Regions from separate parts of the Homo sapiens genome. Here regions 2, 3 and 4 are each linked to region 1. Evidence: promoter capture Hi-C in 16 types of primary human blood cells and fetal thymus (Javierre and others, 2016). All regions are on one chromosome and are shown on one strand. The core of a region is centred on a gene start or on the middle of the fragment in contact, and the rest is flanking DNA. Distances in the headings are between cores, read along the strand shown.

What was found. Contacts are between HindIII fragments. The CHiCAGO score rates a contact against its expected background, and 5 or more counts as called.
Region 2: a fragment that was not itself captured here is called in contact with the fragment with the promoter of C2orf69 in region 1 in 1 of 17 cell types (M2 macrophages); the score reaches 5.5 in M2 macrophages.
Region 3: a fragment that was not itself captured here is called in contact with the fragment with the promoter of C2orf69 in region 1 in 1 of 17 cell types (non-activated CD4 T cells); the score reaches 7.8 in non-activated CD4 T cells.
Region 4: a contact is called between a fragment that was not itself captured here and the fragment with the promoter of C2orf69 in region 1, in 2 of 17 cell types (activated CD4 T cells and non-activated CD4 T cells). The highest score is 5.8, in activated CD4 T cells.

What each region holds. Positions count from the first base shown.
Region 1 is chr2:199,907,494-199,912,866 of GRCh38, forward strand. C2orf69 (chromosome 2 open reading frame 69) reads left to right here and starts at 3,800. Exons shown (of 2, transcript NM_153689.6): 1 at 3,800-4,278. The coding sequence starts at 3,946. LOC101927687 (a long non-coding RNA gene) reads right to left here and starts at 3,653. Exons shown (of 4, transcript XR_923766.4): 1 at 3,532-3,653; 2 at 1,610-1,679. RefSeq lists an enhancer at 3,932-4,121. The HindIII fragment of the contact is 7,031 bases long and covers 225-5,373 here.
Region 2 is chr2:200,430,859-200,436,333 of GRCh38, forward strand. The region is part of intron 6 of SPATS2L (spermatogenesis associated serine rich 2 like); the gene reads left to right. LOC101927741 (a long non-coding RNA gene) reads right to left here. Exons shown (of 7, transcript XR_007088047.1): 4 at 647-679. Among named protein-coding and RNA genes, the nearest start is that of KCTD18, 76 kb to the right of the region's middle. The HindIII fragment of the contact is 5,374 bases long and covers 831-5,475 here.
Region 3 is chr2:200,475,225-200,480,839 of GRCh38, forward strand. It overlaps SPATS2L (spermatogenesis associated serine rich 2 like), which reads left to right. Exons shown (of 13, transcript NM_001100423.2): 13 at 2,412-5,615. The coding sequence ends at 2,807. LOC101927741 (a long non-coding RNA gene) reads right to left here and starts at 2,749. Exons shown (of 7, transcript XR_007088047.1): 1 at 2,321-2,749; 2 at 879-1,018. The HindIII fragment of the contact is 3,995 bases long and covers 2,314-5,615 here.
Region 4 is chr2:200,494,351-200,500,045 of GRCh38, forward strand. It overlaps KCTD18 (potassium channel tetramerization domain containing 18), which reads right to left. Exons shown (of 7, transcript NM_152387.4): 4 at 4,541-4,734; 5 at 3,403-3,497. Among named protein-coding and RNA genes, the nearest start is that of KCTD18, 13 kb to the right of the region's middle. The HindIII fragment of the contact is 5,213 bases long and covers 1-3,930 here.

The DNA of each region.
Region 1 (5,373 bases), core at 2,550-5,049:
TTTGCATTTTGAGGAAGTAGGTGTCTAATAAATTATATACCACAGGAACAGGGTACATGGTGTTGCTTAGCTGGTGAAACTAGCCAAAGAATAAGCTTTCAAATCCCCAAATGGCTCTATTCTCTAATTTTTATTTTATCAAGCACTTTGGGGGCCAAATTACATGCTAGAGTGGCATACCTCATATGAAGCCTGTTCCTCTCAAGGCCCAGTTTTGGCAAACAAGCTTATTAAAACACAAAAAAATACCTATTCAAAACCAAGAATAATTTTTTAAAACTAAAACTTTTCAATCTCTTAAAGAACATCAAATGGGATCCAATTAAAATCTCACAGAACTTCTCAAAATCATTTCCCCACTCCTCTCCCTCTCAACTGCTCACAGAAAGCCACATTTAAGGGCTTTTGCTGCTCGCCCACCCCCACCCCCCCGCTTTTTTTTTTTTTTTTTTAAAGACAGACTCTTACGGTGTTGCCCAGGATAGAGTTCAGTGGCTCAATTTTGGCTCACTGCAACCTCCGCCTCCCGGGTTCAAGTGATTCTCCTGCCTCAGCCTCCCGAGTAGCTGGGATTACAGGTGCCCACCACCATGTTTGGCTAATTTTTGTATTTTTAGTAGAGACAGGGTTTCACCATGTTGGCCAGGCTGGTCTCGAACTCCTGACCTCAAGTGATCCGCCTGCCTCGGCCTCCCAAAGTGCTGAGATTACAGGTGTGAGCCACTGTGCCCGGACTTTTTTGTCTTGTCTATTTTTTTCCCCCATCTCCTGCCTTCCTGTATCCACCCATTTCACCTTTCAGTAGAGAAGCTGCACATTTGTGGCCCCTAGGCCAAATATGGCCTATGTGTGCATTTAATTTAATACGGTGTTTTACAAGCAAATTTAATTAGTTGTCAACATTTACAAGTTGGCAAATGAAACATAAAAATCTGTATCTGATTTGTGTCGAGAAATCTCTTAACAAGTTTGAAGGTTTGGCAAAATGTTGCCTTCATTTTACAACTGGCTAGCAGTGAATAGTGACTGCCTTCTTCAAATATGACATCTCTCTAGTTTGCCAGTGTTTACATTCCCTATTGTTTATTTGTGGCCAATTTTACTATTTATAATATAGACCTGGCCCCTGTAGATATTGGAGTTTGTGCCTTTTAATGCTGTCCTTTCCATTGTAAATTAGCCTTTCTCAGATTCCTTCCAATTTTGCAACTTTTCTATTATATTGAATAGCATTAAAAAGGTCTGAGAGCTCAGCAGGATCCCTTGAGAACTCTCAAGAGTCCAGAGGTGAGCTATAGCCTTTTGGACACTATAAGCATTAATATAATCCCTGTGCAGAACCCTATCAGTTAGAGAAGAGAAAACTCACACAACTGATTAGAGTAACTTTGTATATGTAAGACCTCTTTCCGGGATGGAAAACCAGCTCTGAGAAAAGGGAGAATGCTTGGCCATCTGTGCCAGTGTTGTTAGAAAAGTAGTGATTTACAAAATCGGTCTCCTAGAAGACAGAGGGGATGGAGACAGAAAACAGGTATTACAGTAATATCAAGGGGACCTGTGAGAAGGAATTGCAACGGCAATGACTTGCCATAAATGACATACATACCTCAGCTAATCAATTGAGAGCTGTTACTTTCTCTGGAGGTGTCTCCTACAGGGCTGTACAAATCCCTTGACTGTAAGGAAACATTTGTGCTTACTTTAGTCTGTTTCTTTACTCTACTCTTTAAATTCTTACTTGTATTTCTCAAAGACCTTAATTATCTTAGCGATACTGAGACAACTTTGTGGCATTTAATATTTGCTACAATTTTCCTTATAAAACACATTCTCCACTCTCTTCAATAAGAATAGATTTCATTAAGGCAGGGCATGGTGGCTCCTGCCTGTAATCCCAGCACTTTGGGAGGCCGAGGCGGGTAGATCACCTGAAGTAAGGAGTTCGCAACCAGCATGGTCAACATGGAGAAACCCTGTCTCTATTAAAAAAATACAAAAATTAGCCGGGCGTGGTGGCACATGCCTGTGATCTCAGCTACTAGGGAGGCTGAGGCAAGTGAATCGCTTGAATCTGGGGGGCAGAGATTGCAGTGAGCCGAGATTGTGCCACTGCACTCCAGCCTGGGTGACAAAGCAAGATCTTGTCTTAAAAAAATAAACTTAAAAATAAAAATAGATTTCATTATAAGGTCAAGCTAAAAACAAGACCACAAATCAAAAGCTGCATTTGCAATTCATGTACATGTTTGGACTTTTAGATAACATTTCAGCAATCCTCTATCTAACAATGGAAAGTAACATGTTTGCAATTGGCAAAACAGAGTGACGTCAGGTTGCCTAAATGTCATTATATACTAATTATTGTATAACTAACCTCTACTTGTTTTTAACCAGTTATTTTAGAAAGCGGCAGATTTCCTTAGTAATTAATTGAATAATTTTTGATTGATAACAATATTTTGATGTCAGATGGAATGCAACAATTTAGACCAGAGTAGGTTAGCATACTAAGTCACCAAGTCTATACATATATATAAATCATATTTTATCATTTGCTCATTTATGTTCCTACTCCAAGCCATTTGTTATTATTTGCATATGTAGACCAAAGAAAACAGTATGTGTGCTTAAATACACATATATAAACTCCGAACAATTATATATAAAGTGCTTAGATTTCTGGCCTATAGTAAACCCTCAACAAATGTTGGCTGTAGTTTTTTGTAATTTTCATTAATTATTCTCTTTACAGTGCTTTGTCTCACAAGTACTTGGATCTCATCCTCGCTCGCACACATTTCCCTGTTTTGTTTGTTTTTGGTTTATTTTTTGAGACAGGGTCTGCTTCTGTTGCCCAGGCTGGAGTGCAGTGGTGGGATCACAACTCATTGCAGCATACAACTCCTGGGCTCAAGCGATCCAATCTCCCATCTCAGCCCTCCCAGTAGCTTGGACTATAGGCATGCACCACCACGCCCGGCTAATTAAAAAAAAAAATTTAGTAGAGACAAGGCCTCCCTATGTTGCCCAGGCTGGTTTCAAACTGCTGGACTCAAGTGATCCTCCGCCTCGGCCTCCCACAGTGCTGGGAGTACAGGCCTGAGCATACATTTCGCCAAATCTTATTCCTACTCAACTGGCCACAGATAGTTGCTGGACACACATGACTTTCCTACACTGTTTAGTTTTTGAAAACCTCCAAATAGCAAAACACCAAGTAAAGCGTACTGCCTCGCCCCGTTTTTTTCCTGTCCTAGATCATGTACCCTGTTCCCAAACAGAGATGAATTAGCTTCATATCTAACCACAAATTCTCCATGAGCACAGAGATCTTCGTATATCTATAATAATTGTACTCAGGAAACTCAAGGTATGAGGAGAGAGATTCCCTTCCTTCGGGGCTTGTAGGAGACTTCCCACGGAATCTTCTTTGGGAATGTCTCCCTTTTAAGCCCTGAAAGACCAGATAAATCTCAGGTGAACCTAGAGAAACAGGGAGCTTCGTATACTCAAAAGTCTATACATTACGTATTATTGAACGGCGACCTGCGGCCGCCCCTGCTGCTGCGCATGCTCCATAACTGCCGCTTGCTATAGCTGGGAGTACTGTATTATCTCTTTGCTCTTCGCCGGCTCTTCCCCAGACTTCTGTTCGAACTTCCCGGCCGCGGCAGAACCCACCAATCACAAACGCCCTTCCTCAAGCCACGCCCACCGTCTTCTCCGGGATCCCAAGACCGATTTCGCCCACACCCCTCCCTTCCTTTCCTTACGCACGCTGCGCGCGGACGTCGGCCTCTGACGTCGTCGCCTCAGCGCCGGCTCCCGGCCGGGCCGCGGCCGCCGACCGTTGAGCCGCCGGCTGAGCCGCCTGCTGAAGTCCCTCCCTCAGGAACCCCTCCGCCACCCTCCACCTCCGAACCGCTCTCGCGGCGGCGACCCATGTGGGGGTTCAGGCTCCTGCGGTCGCCGCCGTTGCTGCTCCTGCTGCCGCAGCTCGGAATCGGAAACGCCTCGTCCTGCTCTCAGGCCAGAACCATGAACCCGGGCGGCAGCGGCGGCGCGCGATGCTCCCTCTCGGCCGAGGTGCGCCGCCGTCAGTGCCTGCAGCTTTCCACCGTGCCTGGAGCCGATCCGCAGCGCAGCAACGAATTGCTCCTGTTGGCGGCGGCCGGGGAGGGACTGGAGCGGCAGGACCTCCCCGGGGACCCAGCGAAGGAGGAGCCGCAGCCGCCGCCCCAGCATCACGTCCTCTATTTCCCTGGGGATGTGCAGGTAACTCGGGGCCTGCCTGGGTATCTGTTCCTTCCTCTCGTGTATACGTACGCGGTCACTGATTCTTCCCTCGTGGCTGCTGCCTGGTTCCTTTCCTTGCCTGAACACACCCACACATTCACTGAGGGTGGCTCTTCCTCTACTCCACGAAATCCAAAACCGTGCCTTCCACGCCCTTGGCGCCCTTTGTCCATAGAACCCCATGGGGAAGGTGTCCGACGAGGGCTACGATCTCGAAAGAGCCAGCTGTCGGTCCAGGTTTCCAAGAGGCGGAATTTGAGACAGGGAGTGACACGCATCTTGTATATTTATTCTATAATTTGGTTTCTCAGAGGACCGTGTGTGTGTGTTGGGCAGGGGACAGAGCGATGGCTTTCAAATTAAGTTAGCACGTAGTGTTTAGAAAACGGTGGCAGTAATTAAAAACCAAACAAACATTACAAAGGTATGACATCCAGTAACCCTAAAAAAGAGTGGGGATGGGTGGAAGAAAAGGGACAATAATTATTAAGCATGTCAATGTTTTGATGCTCACCTCTTTTGTACTTTTGCTTTTGCATGTTATGTTTATTATTTTATAGCTGCAGGTAAATATCCGTGGTTATGTTGCCCTGAAAACTGGGTCTTAATCTAACGTTGCATTATCTAATATGGTAGCCATTAGCCATATATGGCTATCTGAATTAATTAAAATTAAATAAAACTAAAAATCCAGTTATTCATATTAGCTGCATTTCAAGTGCTCAGTAGCTACAGATGGCTTGCGTGTGCTGTATTGGACAGCACAGATATATAGCATTATCATAGAAAATAATCCATCATCATAGAAAGTTCTAGACAGGTAAAGCTAGACTATAGCTAGGTATGTTTCTCTTTTTTGTTTTTTTGAGACGGAGTCTTGCTTAGTTGCCCAGGCTGGAGTGCAGTGGCGCAGTCTCGACTCACTGCAACCTCCGCCTCCCGGGCTCAAGTGATTCTCGTGCCTCAGCCTCCCGAGTAGCTGGGATTACAGGCATGCGCTACCACACTGAGCTAATTTTTGTATTTTTAGTAGAGATGGGGTTCCACCATGTTGGACAGGCTGGTCTCGAACTT
Region 2 (5,475 bases), core at 2,268-4,767, 520 kb after region 1:
AGGCGCCTGCCACCACTTCCAGCCAATTTTTGTATTTTTAGTAGAGATGGAGTTTCGCCATTTTGGCCAGGCTGGTCTGGAACTCCTGACCTCAGGTGATCTGCCCACCTTGGCTTCCCAAAGTGCTGGGATTACAGGCATGAACCATCGCACCCGGCCTCCATTGTTTGGTTTTATAAAGAATATTATAGTGAACATCTCTTGTATATAGATTTGTGTGAACAACCATGATTATTTCCTTAGCATATATTCTTAGAAGTAGAATTATTGGGTTCAAAGGGTATGAATAGTTTTTAAGTTATTAATATATTACTGTCCGGAAAGGTTGTACTAATCTCATTGTTTTTACTTTTAAAACTGATTGGTAGAGGGATGGAACTTTTTAAGAAGTTTCTTTTCCATTTGTATTTTTTCTTTTGTAAATATTTAAGAACACAAAGATCAATTACCAAAGAACTACCAATTGTATTATCAGGTATCAAGTATCATAAAACACCATCACATTCACATAAGTACTTTTTAAAGAATGGTAACTTGCTTTAAGTAACATAGACATTAGCAATTTTAGACATAATTTTACAACAACAAAGTTATGCTTTGTTTCTTTATCAGTTTCTTCCAAATACAACTACTTTACAATACTTACTCAAGATCAGATGATGTGCTTTGCTGCAATTACCTGTGTATAGAAGACAATGAAACCATCTTAACTCAAAGGGTTAAAATAATTATTTTAGAACTATTCTATGTTTAATACATTCCTTACAGTTAGATTTGAATTCTTAAAGTTAGATTTGAATTCTTTCTTCAGTCTACTTATAAGTATATCAAGCTTTCACTAAAAAGTAAAAACTAAAGAGAAAACAATCTTTTTCAGAAACTTTCAAATTTGAATACACACATGGCTGTACATACATAATGAAAACTTTTGAATCCAAGTTTATATATTTCCCCCAAGAGGAGGGTTTGTTTTCTTTGGCACTGCTAACAAAAACAACCAGCACAATTCATTTATTGTATAAAATAAATTAAGCACAAGTAAAGTATATAAGTTGATACTAAGATTTAGTAACCAGTAAGTTGATAGTTTTCACTGTTGGCAAGAGTTAAATATGAAAACAATTGCAGGCACTGCAGCTGAGTGTAAATGGTACAACTTGACTGAAAAATAATTTGGCAAAGCATATCAAGAACTTTTCAAGAGAAAGAAAGGCATGAATTTGTATTGACTTCATAACAAATTCCCTTAAATTATAGTAAAGAAATTTTTAAATGTAGAAATCCACAATACTGAAAAAAATGAGAAAAGGGTATCAGTTTCTACAAGAAAGGAAGTAGATGGAAGGGGCTTTATTGATGAATCAGATGCTGCAGCATAGAATACAGAGGGAGGAGCTTTGGTGGGGAGGAAGATGATTGCCCTGCAGAAACTGGGGGAGCCCTGGGTTCAGAGTCAGCACATGGGATGGAAGGCAAGCTCAAGAAGAGGAGTATAAAGCAGAGGAATTAAATGAAGGTATTTTAAGGAACAGTGCACTATCCCCTTATCATCTCTTCCATCCCCCAACTTGTTCTTTTAGCTGCCTAACATTTATCCTCAAGGCAAAAAGGGAGGAAGAGAGTGGGCAGTGATCTGCAAGTACATTAGTCACCCGTTAGAACAAAAGTCAAAACCCTTTAAAGGAAAAGAAGAAGATCTAGAGTTTCTCAATGCATCATCCAAAATGGTCAGTGTCCAATTTTAAAAATTACTAGACATGGGAAGGAGCAGGAAAATGTGACCTATAATGAAGAGAAAGATTAGTCATTAAAAACAGACCCATTAACAACACAGAAGTTGGAATTAGCAGACAAGGATTGCTAATTAAAAATATGTTAAGAATTTTATGGAAAAAGAAGATGGATATATAATGGATGAAGAAAAAGAAAATTTAAGTCATCAGGTGTGCTTAGCAACAGTTCAGACGATGAAGAAGAAAGGATGAGTGAACTTAAAGACAAGTCAAAAGAAACTATGCCAACTGAAGAACAGAGAGAAAAAAAGTAAAAGAATAAAACAAAGCCAGAGCCTCAGTGACTTAAGGAACAGTATCAGGCAGTCTCACATAGGTGTAATTAGAGTCTCAGAAGGAGAGCAAAGAGGAAATTTGGCAGGGAGAAGGAGGAAGCTATGAAGAAATAATGGACACAGTTTATCCAAATTTGATGAAAAACAACAAGCCTCATATCCAAGGGTCATTTCATAGTAATATGTTGTTTGATTGATCAAAAAGATATAACACCTCTAAATGTATGTGCATCTAATGATTCCAGATCCATGAAGCAGCAATATATAGAACTAAAGAAAGCGACAAATCCAAATCCACAGCAGTGTAGATCTTAATATCAGGTTCTTAGTAACTGATAGAACATATAGATTAAAAATCAGTAAGAACATAGACGATTTGAACAATACTATCAACCAACTTGAGCCAATTGATATTTAAAGGACAACACACCCAACAATTTCAAGAGAACATGGCATTTACATTAAAATAGGCCAGTTGCTGGACCATAAAATTAGTTTCAAATTTTAAAACACCATCTTAAGAGTATGGTGTCTGAACACAGTAGAATTGAATTAACAATAGCAATAAGATAACTAGAAAATCTCTGAACATTTAAAAATTAATCAATCTTCTAAACAATCCATTAGCCAAAAAGAAAATTTCACAAGAGATATGAGAAAAATTTTGAACTGAATCATAATGAAAATATAATAAACCAATTTCCAATATCAGGGATAAAATTAACCCTGACTTCATTTATTTAAAAGCTAACAGGATGTTATAAACAACTTTATGCCAATAAATCCAACAACTTAAATGAAATGGACAAATTCTTTAAAAACACAACTTACCAAAACAGACAAGAAGAAATAGAAAATCTGAATAACACTATGCTTACCAAGGAAATTCATAATTAAAATTTCCAGGCCCAGATGACTTCCTTAGTGAATTCCCATGAACATTTGAGGAATAAATGTAATTGCAATCTTAAACAGTTTCAGAAAATAGAAAGAAGGAATACTTCCTAACTCATTTTATGAGGCCAGCATAACTCGTATCAAAACCTGACAAAGTCATTACAAGAAAAGAAAATTACAGAACAATATTGTTAATGAATAAAGAAGCAAAAATCCTCAACAAAACATTAACAAGTGAAGTAAACAATATATAAAAGGATAATACTGCATGACCAAGTGGGTGTGGTTAATAATTTCAGGAACTCAACATCAGTTTAACATTTAAAAAAATCAACATAATATTATTAATAAAATAAAGGAGAACAATAATATGATCATCTCAGTGTGTAAAATAAAAAATTCACTTGACAAAAACTGTCAGCAAAGAAGGAATACAAGAGAATTTTTAGAGTCTAATAAATACATGGAAACTCTACAGCTGTGTAATACTTGATAAAATACTGAATGCAGTTTCCCTAAGACCCAGAACAATGCAGGGATGCTCATTCTGCTTTGTAGCTAGGATTAATAAGACAAGGAACGATTGGAAAAGAAGAAGTTAGACTTCATTACCACTGTCATCATTGTGTTTGTAGAAAGAAAATCTTAAGAAATCTACAAAAAAAAATAAAGCTGCCAGAACTAATAAGGACATTAGCCAGGTCGCTAGATATAAGTTCAATATATTAAAAAGCATTTGTATTCCTGACATTTTGGAATTGAAATTTTTAAAAATGCTATAAACAATAACATAAAAATTCTAAAACACCTAGGAATAAATTTGACTGTAGATGCACAAGACTCTAAGAACTATAAAATGATGCTAAAGCAAATTAGAATTGAAATAAATGGCATAGTATGTCATGTCGAGGGTCAAAAGACTCAGTATTGTTAAGATACCGCATATCCCCAAATTGCTTTATAGATTCAACACAAGTCCAATGAAAATCTCATCATATTTTTTGTTGAAATAGGCAAATTGATTCTTAAATTTATATTAAAATGCAAAGGACCTAAGATAGTCAAAACAATCTTGAAAAAGAGGAGTAAAGCAGTTACAGTAACTAGGACAGTGTAATGGTGGTGTGAGAACTGGCAGCTAGATCGGTGGAATAGAATACAGTCCAGAAATAGTCACGCATATAGTCAGTTAATGTTTATCAGAGGTACCAAGACAATTCAATGGGAAAGTTCAATTCAGATTTACTCTGGTATCCTCTTCCATTATTTTTTCACATTTTACATACTAGTTATTAAGGTCAGTCTATTTCTCATTTATTGCCTATTAATAAACCAGAGCTGATACACTGTGCACTCTCCATATGTGTCTGTTGAATCCTTGAATCAGAAACCAACGTGATACTCAGGACATTATATACCATTTGTGTGTATATACAAAATTGGGATTTGGTAAGTGTTTTCAATAAAAGGAATGCTCACGTAATAGTTAAATTCAAAGACACAAACTTCTAGGAGCCATTTTTAGATACATGGACAAGGATTAAATTAAAATGTATACAATTTTTATTGAAATCTAGGCAGATGGTGTGTTTCCAGAGATAACTTTTCTTTCCAAGATACGGCTACTGTGGAATCTAATATTTGATGAATATTAGATAAAGACACAGCCAGAGACTCATATCAAACGAGGCTCCCTACAACTGGAAGGGCCGTAGGCATGCATAGCACTGAAGTAACACTGATTCATTCATTCAGTATTTATTATGTATCTACGAGATACCAAGCACATACAGTAATGATGAACAAGACATACATCACCCTGTCACCACTTTTCTCATGTAGAAATTGCAGAGGATATTTTAAGGCTTCACTAAAACAAATACCCTTTTCTAGAATATAAATTAGTAGTGATTACACACTGAAGATCAAAACTCTCACACTCCTTGTGTATCCTATTAGTGTTATCCAACAGAAATTTAACACATAGTATGTATATAATTTTATATTTTCTGGTAGCCACATTTAAAAAGTGTAAACAGGTGAATTAAATTGGGTAATATATTTTATTTAACTTAATGTATCAAAAATATCATTTCAACATGTAGTCAATCTTTTTTAAATTATTAAAGTAATATTTTAAATTTTTTATTTTGTACTAAACCTTCACATTTCAGCATATACATTACACTTATAGCACATCTCAATTTGGACAAGCCACATTTCCAGTGTTCAACAGCCACATGTGGCCAGTGGCTACCTTACTGGACACTGGAGGCTTATGTGTGAATCAGCCCCCATTGAGCTACAACCTGTTGAAGTTTACAAGTGGACTCCCGATAAATGGAGAGCTGATGGTATTTCTGGACTATAATGTTAGAGGAAAGTCACTGGATACAGTGACTTTCTGTTATAGCTCTATAACGCTCCACCAGTTTTCATCTGCAAGAGTCCCAGAGTTTTACTATATTTGAAGACAGATCTATACTAAAGTAACACTGATACATTCATTA
Region 3 (5,615 bases), core at 3,061-5,560, 570 kb after region 1:
GAACCCCAAAAATCTGAGACAGGTCTCAGATAACTTAGAAAGTTTATTTTGCCAAGGTTGAGGACGTGCACCCGTGACACAGCCTCAGAAGGTCTGATGACATGTGCCCAAGGTGGTGGGGCACAGCTTGGTTTTGTACATTTTAGGGAGACATGAGACATCAATCCATTTGTGTAAGGTGAATATCAGTTCAGTCCAGAAAGGTGGGACTACTGGAGGCAAAGGCGGACAACTGGGAGCGAGGAGGGGGCTTCCAGGTCTTAGGCAGATAAAAGACAGATGGTTGTATTCTTTTGAGTTTCTGATTAGCCTCTCCAAATGAGACAGTCAGATATGCATTTATCTCAGTGAGCAGAGGGGTGACTTTGAATAGAATGGGAGCCAGGTTTGCCCTAAGCAGTTCCCAGCTTGACTTTTCCCTTCAGCTTAGTGATTTGGGGGCCCCAAGATTTATTTTCCTTTAACAGATGTATGGACCTACATTTGTACTCTTGCTCTAGGCTCTGAATTATTGGGGGTTGGTCTGCCCTAAACCTATACCATCCAGTCACAGTGCACAAATGAAGAACCTTATATATTTGTAACTCATAAAATTTCATGTTTTCTTAAGAGGTTTGATTTTCAAAAAAGGTTTATGTTTATGTTACAACTTAAGAGTCTTGTCAGGAGATAGTATATAAAGCGGGAATAGCTCCACCATTTCCCAACTGTAGATAGACCTTGGGCAAGTCCCTGAAACTCCTTATCCTCATCTATAAAACGAAGCACATAATAGCAACTAACTTAAAGGGTGATTCTGATGTTAAATGAGGTAGTGCATGGTGAGAAACCCCATTCAGTGCATGGTAAGCACTCAATGAGTGTTGGCTATTACTGACCTTGAGGAGTTCAGAAATCTTTCCCTTGTAAAGGAGCTTAATCCATTGCGTCCTTACTGCTCATCCATTTACGTTCCTGGTCAGTGATGTGTTGAAGGAATGATTTTTTAATAGAGGCTTCAAATTTTCTTTGCTTATAACTGCAGAAAGTTTAGAAAAACAATGAATTACCTCTGTGAAAATACACCTTATTTCTGCATGCCACCAAGACCTGCCAGATACACTTCACCCCTATATTTGTCCAAGATAATATTTCTGAACTATAAAGATATTTGTTTTGGAATAAATTAGAAAAGCTACTTTAGAGAAGAAAAGTTACAGAATTTTACTTTTTCTTCACTTACGTAATTAGAATTCCTATGCATGGTTTTGAACAGGAAATTTTCCTTGACCCCTTCACAGGCCTTGCAACAGGGGTGCCTCACTTTCTCAGCCTGAAGCTCTGAACCCCTCGGGGGAGGGAGAGCATGCAGGTGAGCAGGTGCAGGAGCTAGAGCAAGCACTTTTGGCCACCGGCAGGATCAAAACTCCATGCAGTCCCACAGCAGTGCCTAGGGTAGTACCCATGACCCCTGGAGCCCCAGAGGGCATGCGTTACAATGCTCTTTTAGCTTTGCAGTCCAAGGACGGCTTAAGTATTTAACAGCTCAATAGACCTTCTACTTTTTCATGAAGGCAGAGGGTCAATGTGACACTTTTCTGTATCCTGAGCTCTTGTCCAGCATCCATGAAAAATCAGGTCATATGAACAAATTGAAGGATAGTAAACGCGGGGGATTTTATTGCCATTGAAAGTGGCTCTCAGCAGGAGGGAGAGAGCTGGAAAATGGGGATGGAGTGGGAACGTATTCTTCCCCTGAAGTACTGCCATCAAGCAGTCCCGCTAAAGTCAAGCTGCTGCTCTCCGACTCAGACTGCAGTCTCCGACGTGCAGCTGCTTCTCCTCTTCTCTGCTCTGTGCCAGTGGAGCCTGGGATTTTTATGGGTACAGGATACGGGGTGGGGTAGGCCAGGGGTGGTTTTGGAAAAGGCAATATTTGAGCAGGAAAACAGGAATGTAAAGTTCTCACTTTGGGCTTGAGAGTGGGTCTTGGCCAGGGACCCTGCCCTTTTTCTGTGTACAATTTCTGTGCCTCCTGTCCCTCTCAGTCTCTACAGAATGTCTCAGAAATCTCCATAGTAGAGGATCATCATTACTCTGCCCCTGGCTTCTGTTTTATTCTGCTATAGTTTAAGCATCTTTATGAATTTTATTTGACCCAGTTTTTGAATTGTCTGTCTTACACTTCTGTAACCTCTCTTTCAATATCATTTTCTTCCAGTTCCATTTACAAAACAGTCCACTATTCTTTTAGGATTAATAATTTTATCTGCCTGACCTCATCTTCATGTTTTCTGATTCTTCTGGTGTATAAAAAAAAAAAAAAAAAAAAAAAGCTTACCTGTGGCTTAGAGATTTGGTTTTCCTGATGTCTACTGGTGTCATCAGTGGCTTGCTGGCATCTGATACTTATCTCTTTTCTTTTTTGGTAGAATGGATCTTCTAACCAAAGACGGAGATTTAATCCACAGTATCATAACAACAGGCTAAATGGGCCTGCCAAGTCGCAGGGCAGTGGGAATGAAGCCGAGCCACTGGGAAAGGGCAACAGCCGCCACGAACACAGAAGACAGCCGCACAACGGCTTCCGGCCCAAAAACAAAGGCGGTGCCAAAAATCAAGAGGCTTCCTTGGGGATGAAGACCCCCGAGGCCCCGGCCCATTCTGAAAAGCCCCGGCGAAGGCAGCACGCTGCAGACACCTCGGAGGCCAGGCCCTTCCGGGGTAGTGTCGGTAGGGTTTCACAGTGCAATCTCTGCCCCACGAGAATAGAAGTTTCCACAGATGCAGCAGTTCTCTCAGTCCCGGCTGTGACGTTGGTGGCCTGAGCTAGGAGGAAAAAGAGCAGTTTTCACTCAGTTTTGGTTCCCTGCCCGAGGTGCTGACCCAATTCGCTGCCAAAAGAGTGTCAATCAGAATATACAAATCCCGTATGGTTGTGTCATCCTCTCTTAATCATTTTTACTAATTCTAATAATCAGCTCTAGCTTGCTTCATAATTTTCATGGCTTTGCTTGATCTGTTGATGCTTTCTCTCATCAAGACTTTGCAGCATTTTAGCCAGGCAGTATTTACTCATTATTAGGAAAATCAAGATGTGGCTGAAGATCAGAGGCTCAGTTAGCAACCTGTGTTGTAGCAGTGATGTCAGTCCATTGATTGTCTTTAGAGAGTTAATGTTACAAAAAAGAATTCTTAATAATCAGACAAACATGATCTGCTGAGGACACATGCGCTTTTGTAGAATTTAACATCTGGTGTTTTTCTGAAAAAATATATATACATATATTGCTTTATTTGAAACAAATTAAAATATGCTGCATTTGACACCTGGCTAGTTTCTTTTATTGATACCCACCTAGTTATTGAATGTACTGTTTAGTGCTTTCAAAAAAAACTTTAGAGACTAGAGGTTGTGGTGCAAAGCTGTGTACAATAAATACTGTTTCTGTTGAGACAAGTACTCTTTCAGGAAAATATATATATGCCCTTTCAATTAGATTACACAAATAGATGGATATGCACCCTGATCATCTTAGACACACCATGTGGCAGTTGGGCAGTTGGAAACATTGGTTGCAAGTACTACAAACCTCAGCTGAGCCTAGCTTCAACAATAAGAATTTATTGGTTCAGTGAGTGAAAAGTCCAGTTGGTCCAATTTGATCAGGATTTCAGCTCCCATCTCTTTTTTTTTTTTCTTTTTTCTTTTTCTTTTTTTGAGACAGTCTTGCTTTGTCACCCAGGTGGAGTGCAATGGCATGATCTCGGCTCACTGCAACCTCCGCCTCCTGGGTTCAAGCCATTCTCCTGCCCGGCCTTCCGAGTAGCTGGGATTACAGGCATGTGCCACCACGCCCTGCTAATTTTTATATTATTAGTACAGACAGGATTTCACCATGTTGTCCAGGCTGGTCTCAAACCCCTGACCTCAGGTGATCCACCTGCTTTGGCCTCCGAAACTGCCGGAATTACAGGCATGAGCCACCGTACCCGGCCAGCTCCCATCTCTTAATTATCTTAGCTCTCCTTTCCTCCTTGGGTTGACATTGCATTCAGAATTGTGGCAAAGGGCCACCATGCTCTTAAGACTCAAGTCTATTTTCCACACTGTCCAGAGGAGAGAAGTTATCCTAGTAGCTTCTACACAGAGCAAGTGTCTTTCTCAGAAATCCCAGCAAAGGTCTTGCATACCATTGCTGGTAGGCCTGTCTCTTAAACCAATCATGAAAGGGGGGAGAGAAGTGAATGGGATGAACTAATTTGCATAGACTAATTAGAGCCCACCCCTGGAGCCTGGGTGTGGCCATCTTCCCAGAGTTCCTGAGCTAGATGGAGAAGGGGTACTTCTCAGAAAGGGAAAATGGATACCCAATGGCCCAAACCCAAAATAGCCCCAGTTCCCCTAACTTTGACTACAGGGCAGTCCAGTTTGGGTGCCGCTTCCGTTGCACTCACATGTCCTACATATCTGTTGACTACTCACAAGTGCAAATGCTTATTCTCAACTCAACATTAACATTTTTTCTGGCAACCCAGGTTCACTGGTTCTCTTCCACAGAGCGGCCCTGAGCAGCTGAGCCTGCAAGCCACGCAAGCATCTGTTTCTTCTTTTGCCAAGTACAGGAGGATGTTTGCTCTCTCTGTAGAGAGCTTTCTGAGGTCTCTGGGTGTACCCAGAGATTTAATAGAAATTCTTAACGTTAAGTCACATTCCAGGAAGGAAGGAAGAGTTGTTCGTTCAAATAAGAAAGATAAATGTTCGGCACTGTAGGCCCTGTTTACCCCATCTGAGGCCCTGAATTCATATATTACAAGACGGAAGGATTTTGCACAGTTTTTTATGTAGCAAGATTTTGCTCACCACTGAAAAATGTCAGTGTAAATGTGACCGCTTTAAAGATGAGTCAAGTAATTCTTGGAACAGGGAAAAAAATGAATTTGCCAGGTCAGGAGTTCACCTGCCTTTGTCAGAGTTGAACCCAACCACTCTTGACCTCGACTCACTCCCTTAGGGTTAAGAAAGCCCAAACACATTCCTGAGCACAGAGCAAACACTCCCATGTCACTGAAAAGAAACAAAAGAATGCTAAAAAGTGCTCAGACCTGATCACATTTTTTCCAATATTTTTTCCTTTTTTTTTTTTTTTTTGAGACAGGGTCTTGCTCTATCACCTAGGCTGGAGTGCATGTTTTTGAGACAGGGTCTTGCTCTATCACCTAGGCTGGAGTGCATGATCATGGCTCACTATAGCCTTGAACTCCTGGGCTCAAGCCATCCTCAGCCTCCCAAGTTGCGAGGACTACAGGTGTGCACCACAACGTCCCAGCTACTTTTTAAATTTTTAGTAGAAACGAGGTCTCACTATGGTGCCCAGACTGGTCTCGAACTCCGGAGCTCAAGTGATCTTCCTGCTTTGGCCTCCCAAAGTGTTAGAATTACAGGCATGAGCCACCTCGCCTGGCTGGTTTTTGCCTTTCTTATAGACCCTGGGCATGTAAGCATTTATTAGTTTGCATTTTTGAAACAGTAATTTCAATATTTTAGTGCCAATGTCAGGCCGCTTAAACACTGTATTACATATCTTCATCTGTCTGGTGGAACTATTGGTGTGATCCTAGAGAACTGAGTCCTA
Region 4 (5,695 bases), core at 74-2,573, 580 kb after region 1:
TGAATTTCCATCTCAATTTTTTTTAGAAAAGAAGCATAAATATATACACATGAAAAAAGCTCAAGGAATTATGTTGAATAAAAATTGCTTGGAGTAATCTAAGTCCCAATAATGGATTTGGTGTTGTCTTCTTATTAAACTTCTGGTAACAATAACAATTTAGCAAGCTGGGCATATAAATCATTATAATGATAGACATATCTGATACTCAAATAACTCTATGATCCTCATTTTAAAACAATTAACTTTCTGGAACTGCTTGATCACACTCCAAAACCTACACATACTATAAAAACATTCCCAAATCCGGTCCATTAAGTTTGCTTTTTCTAAAAGTCAGATTTATTAAGATATAATTTATGTAAAATAAAATTCACCCTTTTCAGGTACACATTTCAATGAGTTTTGACAAATGGATATAGTTATGTATCCATAGTCATAATCTGTAGACCACTTCTATCACCCCAAAAATTTCCTCATACCCCTTAGCAATCAATGTCCCCTCCATATCCTTAGTTTTGCCTTTTCTGAAATGTCATATAAATGGGATCATACAAAATGCAACCTTTTGTGTCTGGCTTCTTTAGCATGATGCTTTAAGATTCATCCATGTTGCTGTATGTAGCAATGATCATTTCTTTTATCAGTGAGTAGTATTCCACTGTATGGATACACCACAATTTGTTTAAAAACTTTCTTTTTTTTTCCTGCCTATAAAGTAATTCACATCCCTTGTACAATACCTGGAAAATATAGAAAAGTATATATAAGGGAATCAAAGTCACTCCTAATCAGAAGACCAGGAATCATTGGCTCAGGACAGACTAATATGTTTCATTCCAGTCTTTTTTCTAGTCATATGATATACTTTACATTTATTTCCTGCTTTTCATCATTTCTTATCATGGGCATTCATCTATGCAAAAAGTTATTTAAAATAACTTTAATCGCTTTATTATATTCCATTCTGTGGATGTGCCAAAATATATTTAACCCTCAATCATTAGACATTTAAAGTGTTTTTATTTTGTCTCTATTATGAAAAATGCCAGAGAACATTTCTGTTCCTAAGCCTTTGTCTGTGTTTATGTCCTTAAGATAGATAAGATAGATTCCAAGAAGTAAAATTACTGGGTCAAAGAATATGAACAATTGTGATGCACTGATGTGACCTAACAAGTTATTTTCCAAAAGTTACATCAATTTTTACTCCTACCAGGAATGAATAAGAGATCTTTACTCATCTGGTATATAAAAAATTGTTTTTATTAAATGTATATTTCATTGATAAGGAATGAAGCTGAACCGCCTGCCACGTGTTTACTTCTTTTTCTGGGAATTTTATGGTCATGAACCTTGTAATTTTTTTTTTTGTAGTAGTGGTTGCCTTTCTAATCAATTTTAATAAACTTTCTTTCTATTAAGGATATACTTTGTCCAGTTAATGCAACATTATTTATCCTAGTTTTTTATTAGTCTTTAAATTTTATTTATAATTTTTAATGTTTCTTGTTTTTTTGTTTTGTTTTGTGTTTAACATTTATGCCTAGTGTTCCATTATTGGAACACTAAGCATGTGGGAGTTATTTATATCCTACTGCTCAAGGTCATCGCCAAGATCTGATTGCAAAAATTCGGCTCACTGCAACTTCTGCCTCCTGGGTTCAAGCGATTCTCCTACCTCAGCCTCCTGAGTAGCTGGGACTACAGGCGTGTGCCACCACACCCAGCTAATTTTTGTATTTTTAGTAAAGACAGGGTTTCACCATGCTGGCCAGGATGGTCTCAATCTCATGACCTCATGATCCACCTGCCTCGGCCTCCCAAAGTGCTGGGATTACAAGTGTGAGTCACCGTGCCCAGCCCTCCTTCAGCTTTCTAAGGCAGTGGGCTCCTGGACATCTTGCCAGTCCAGAGGCACAAAGAGAGACACAGAGAACACCATGGAGTTTGTTCTCCAACTTGAGCATAAGTGTCTCAAAGTAAATTAAATATAAAATAGAAAGCTGAAAGATGTCATCCTGCCTCTTGAGGGGTATGACTGGAAAGGAAAAAGGAAGGAAAGTGAGGGGGGCAAAGTTGAGGAAAGGAAGAAGGACTGGAGCTGGCACGACACCTGAAGGAAGAACAGCTGATACAGTGTTTTGTTTTGTTTTGTTTTGAGACGGAGTTTCATTCTTGTTGCCCAGGCTGGAGTGCAATGGTACAATCTCAGCTTACAGCAACCTCTGCCTCCCGGGTTCAAGCCATTTTCCCACCTCAGCCTCTCAAGTAGCTGGGATCACAGGCATGCGCCACCATGCCCGGCTAATTTTTTGTATTTAGTAGAGATGGGGTTTCGCCATGTTGGTCATGCTGGTCTCAAACTCCTGACCTCAGGTGATCCACCTGCCTCGGCCTTCAAGGTGCTGGGATTACAGGCATGAGCCACTGCACCCAGCCAATGCAGTTTTTAAAAGCCTCTTCCTCTCCTTTTATGTCTTGCTCTGTCACCCAGGCTGGAGTGCAGTGGTGTGATAACAGCTCACTCCACCCTCAAACTCCTGGGCTCAGGCAATCCTCCTGCCTCAGCCTCCCAAGTAACTGAGACAATAGGTGCATGACACCAGGCCCAGATCTTTTATCCATTGTGTGACTGGCAGTCAGTCTTTACTAGCTTTCAGGATTATTTGAGGATGGAATAAGTCTTATTTATCTTTGGATCCAATTTTAGGACTTGTTATCATACTTTGCACCTAACAGACACTCAATACATGGTTGTTAATTAAGAAAAAAAATGCTTAGGCATAGAACAGAACACGTAACCTGTGATCCTTATGAAAGTGTCAAAGCCCTTCTGAGACTCAGTTTCCTCATCTATAAAATAGGAATGGTAAGTAGCGTACAGGATTGTGTTAGGACTAAGAGATACTGAATGTAAACTACTTATCGGGGATATAAAACAGCATTATTATTACCAACTCTCACTCTGTAGTTTGAGAAAAATGACCAGTTTTCAAAGTGTACATTTAAAGATTATTGTAATTATTTTATAAGGGCTCTTTAGACATCTTCTCCAACATTATTTTCTCTCCCTTTCCTTGATTACATATTTTATGCTTAATTTGAAGTATTTTTCCAATGCACAGTAGGTACTAAATGAACTCTTATTTAATTAAATTAAATAAGCCTAGCTAACAGAAACATACCTAGTTACTGAATTATAAACTATTAATAATATCTAGCAACTCATGGGATTTAAAGATTTGTAAGTAAACTGCCTCAGTGTTATCATGAGATGACAAATACATTGTAAGACTCAAAAGAATACTTTCTAAAAAAAGAAATGCAGTATTTGAGCTTACTTTGTCTTTTTTTTTTAAAGTCCACCTGCTTCCATGAAATAAAAGAATTGCACTGTACCTTTTCCTTCCCAAGCATCAAAGGCATCCATCATTTTCTTCAACTCTGCTACTGAATAATAGCTCCAAATGTACTGAACATTATTTCCCGCCTCTCTAGAAATATTGCAAAGAGTAATGAAAATATACTACCTAGGTATGGATGTGCATATATACATACAGCTAATATACATTTAATAAGAGCTTGTTAATTAAGGGAAAAAACATGTAAGCACTGAGTAGTTGTTCTGTGATCCTTAAGTATACATATGCTTACACAGATACATATGTACACATTATATAATATACTAACCTATATTTTGATCTCTTTTTATCATAGTATTTTATTAATTCCACAATATGCACCATGTAGACAAATCAACACATCTTTAATATCAAGTTTTTAAAAAAAATCAGCGAACTCCAATGAACTTAGAAAATATTCACGTTTCACCAGCATTATGCCAGGCACTTACACATCTTACATAGAAGCATCCCTATCTGTAAAGAATTCAGAAACTGATGACATATTTAATAATCTCAAAAGGCAAGCTTATATGATCCTTCATTAGTCACTAATATTCGACCCAATCCCATCTGCCAGAGAATTTTTTTAAAAATTGCTAAGAGAATTAACCAGTGTAAATAAGATTATAGGAAAAATATTAAGTAATAACTCTTAAGAATTTAACATGTTCAAGTCATAAAATTCTAAAGCTGGAAGGGACCAGCAAGTGCTTCGTCATTTCTCAGAAGAAGACACCAAGGCAGGCCAGCCCTGAGTCACTCAGTAGGCCTGCTGACTTCTTCTGCCAATGCTTCTATGGTCTAGGAAGACACCAGGCATGTGGCTTTTCTTTTTTCTTTCTCTTCTTTTCTTTTTAAGCCTCTCAGGGGAGGGGATTCTGATGCAGACTCCCAGTTGAGAACCACTGCACTAGATCATGCAGATGGCATGCAGCTTATCCATACTGTATGGGAAATGATCTTAATTATAATTTCCTCATGAAGCAGGCCTATCTCAACTGCTATGATGGCTCACTGTGTCTCCTGAGAGGTGTTAATGGTCTTTTCTAGTCAAGCACATTTCATTCAGAAACACCTCTTAAAAGAGACCAAGACTTTATTTTGTTCTTTTTCACATTTAAATTTGGACATACCTTTTAAAAATGCCTTTGCTGTGAATTCTTCCTCCCAGCTGCTTTTCAATAGCGTCTGTTCCATCAGTTTTTGTGGCATATACACCAATAATTCTACTCTCACAGCTTGCACCAGATGTGTTAAGATAGTGGAGAACCCAAACTGTTGGTTTATTGCAGACTAAGCCATATGAATCACAGAAGTCTGTTAAAGCCTAAAGCAAAAAGTATATATAAAATTTGAATTTAATTCTAGAGTAAAATAAAAATGAATATGCTCCATTACTTTCATGTAAAAGCTGAAATTCTAGTTGATCATAAGGGAAATAAAAAGATTATATATTTCAGCTTAGTCTTTACATCTTTAAAAATCAAACACACATTTTTTTTAATTAAATCGGGGCAGGAAGGACAATCACAAAAAATACCCCCCAAAACCCCAACACCTTTTCATCTACAGAAACCTTTTCCACATGGAAATTCCATTTTATTTCTTACTCTTTTAGTCTGCCAACATCACTTTTAATTTTATCATCTTTATAAGATCATTCCTCCACTGCCAACATCACTTTTAATTTTGAAATCCAATCCCACAGAAATACAAACTACCATCAGGGAATACTACAAACACCTCTACGCAAATAAACTAGAAAATCTAGAAGAAATGGATAAATTCCTCGACACATACACTCTCCCAAGACTAAACCAGGAAGAAGTTGAATCTCTGAATAGACCAATAACAGGAGCTGAAATTGTGGCAATAATCAGTAGCTTACCAACCAAAGAGAGTCCAGGACCAGATGGATTCACAGCCGAATTCTACCAGAGGTACAAGGAGGAACTGGCACCATTCCTTCTGAAACTATTCCAATCAATAGAAAAAGAGGGAATCCTCCCTAACTCATTTTAAGAGGCCAGTATCATCCTGATACCAAAGCTGGGCAGAGACACAACCAAAAAAGAGAATTTTAGACCAATATCCTTGATGAACATTGATGCAAAAATCCTCAATAAAATACTAGCAAACCGAATCCAGCAGCACATCAAAAAGCTTATCCACCATGATCAAGTGGGCTTCATCCCTGGGAATGCAAGGCTGGTTCAATATATGCAAATCAATAAATGTAATCCAGCATATAAACAGAACCAAAGGCAAAAACCACATGATTATCTCAA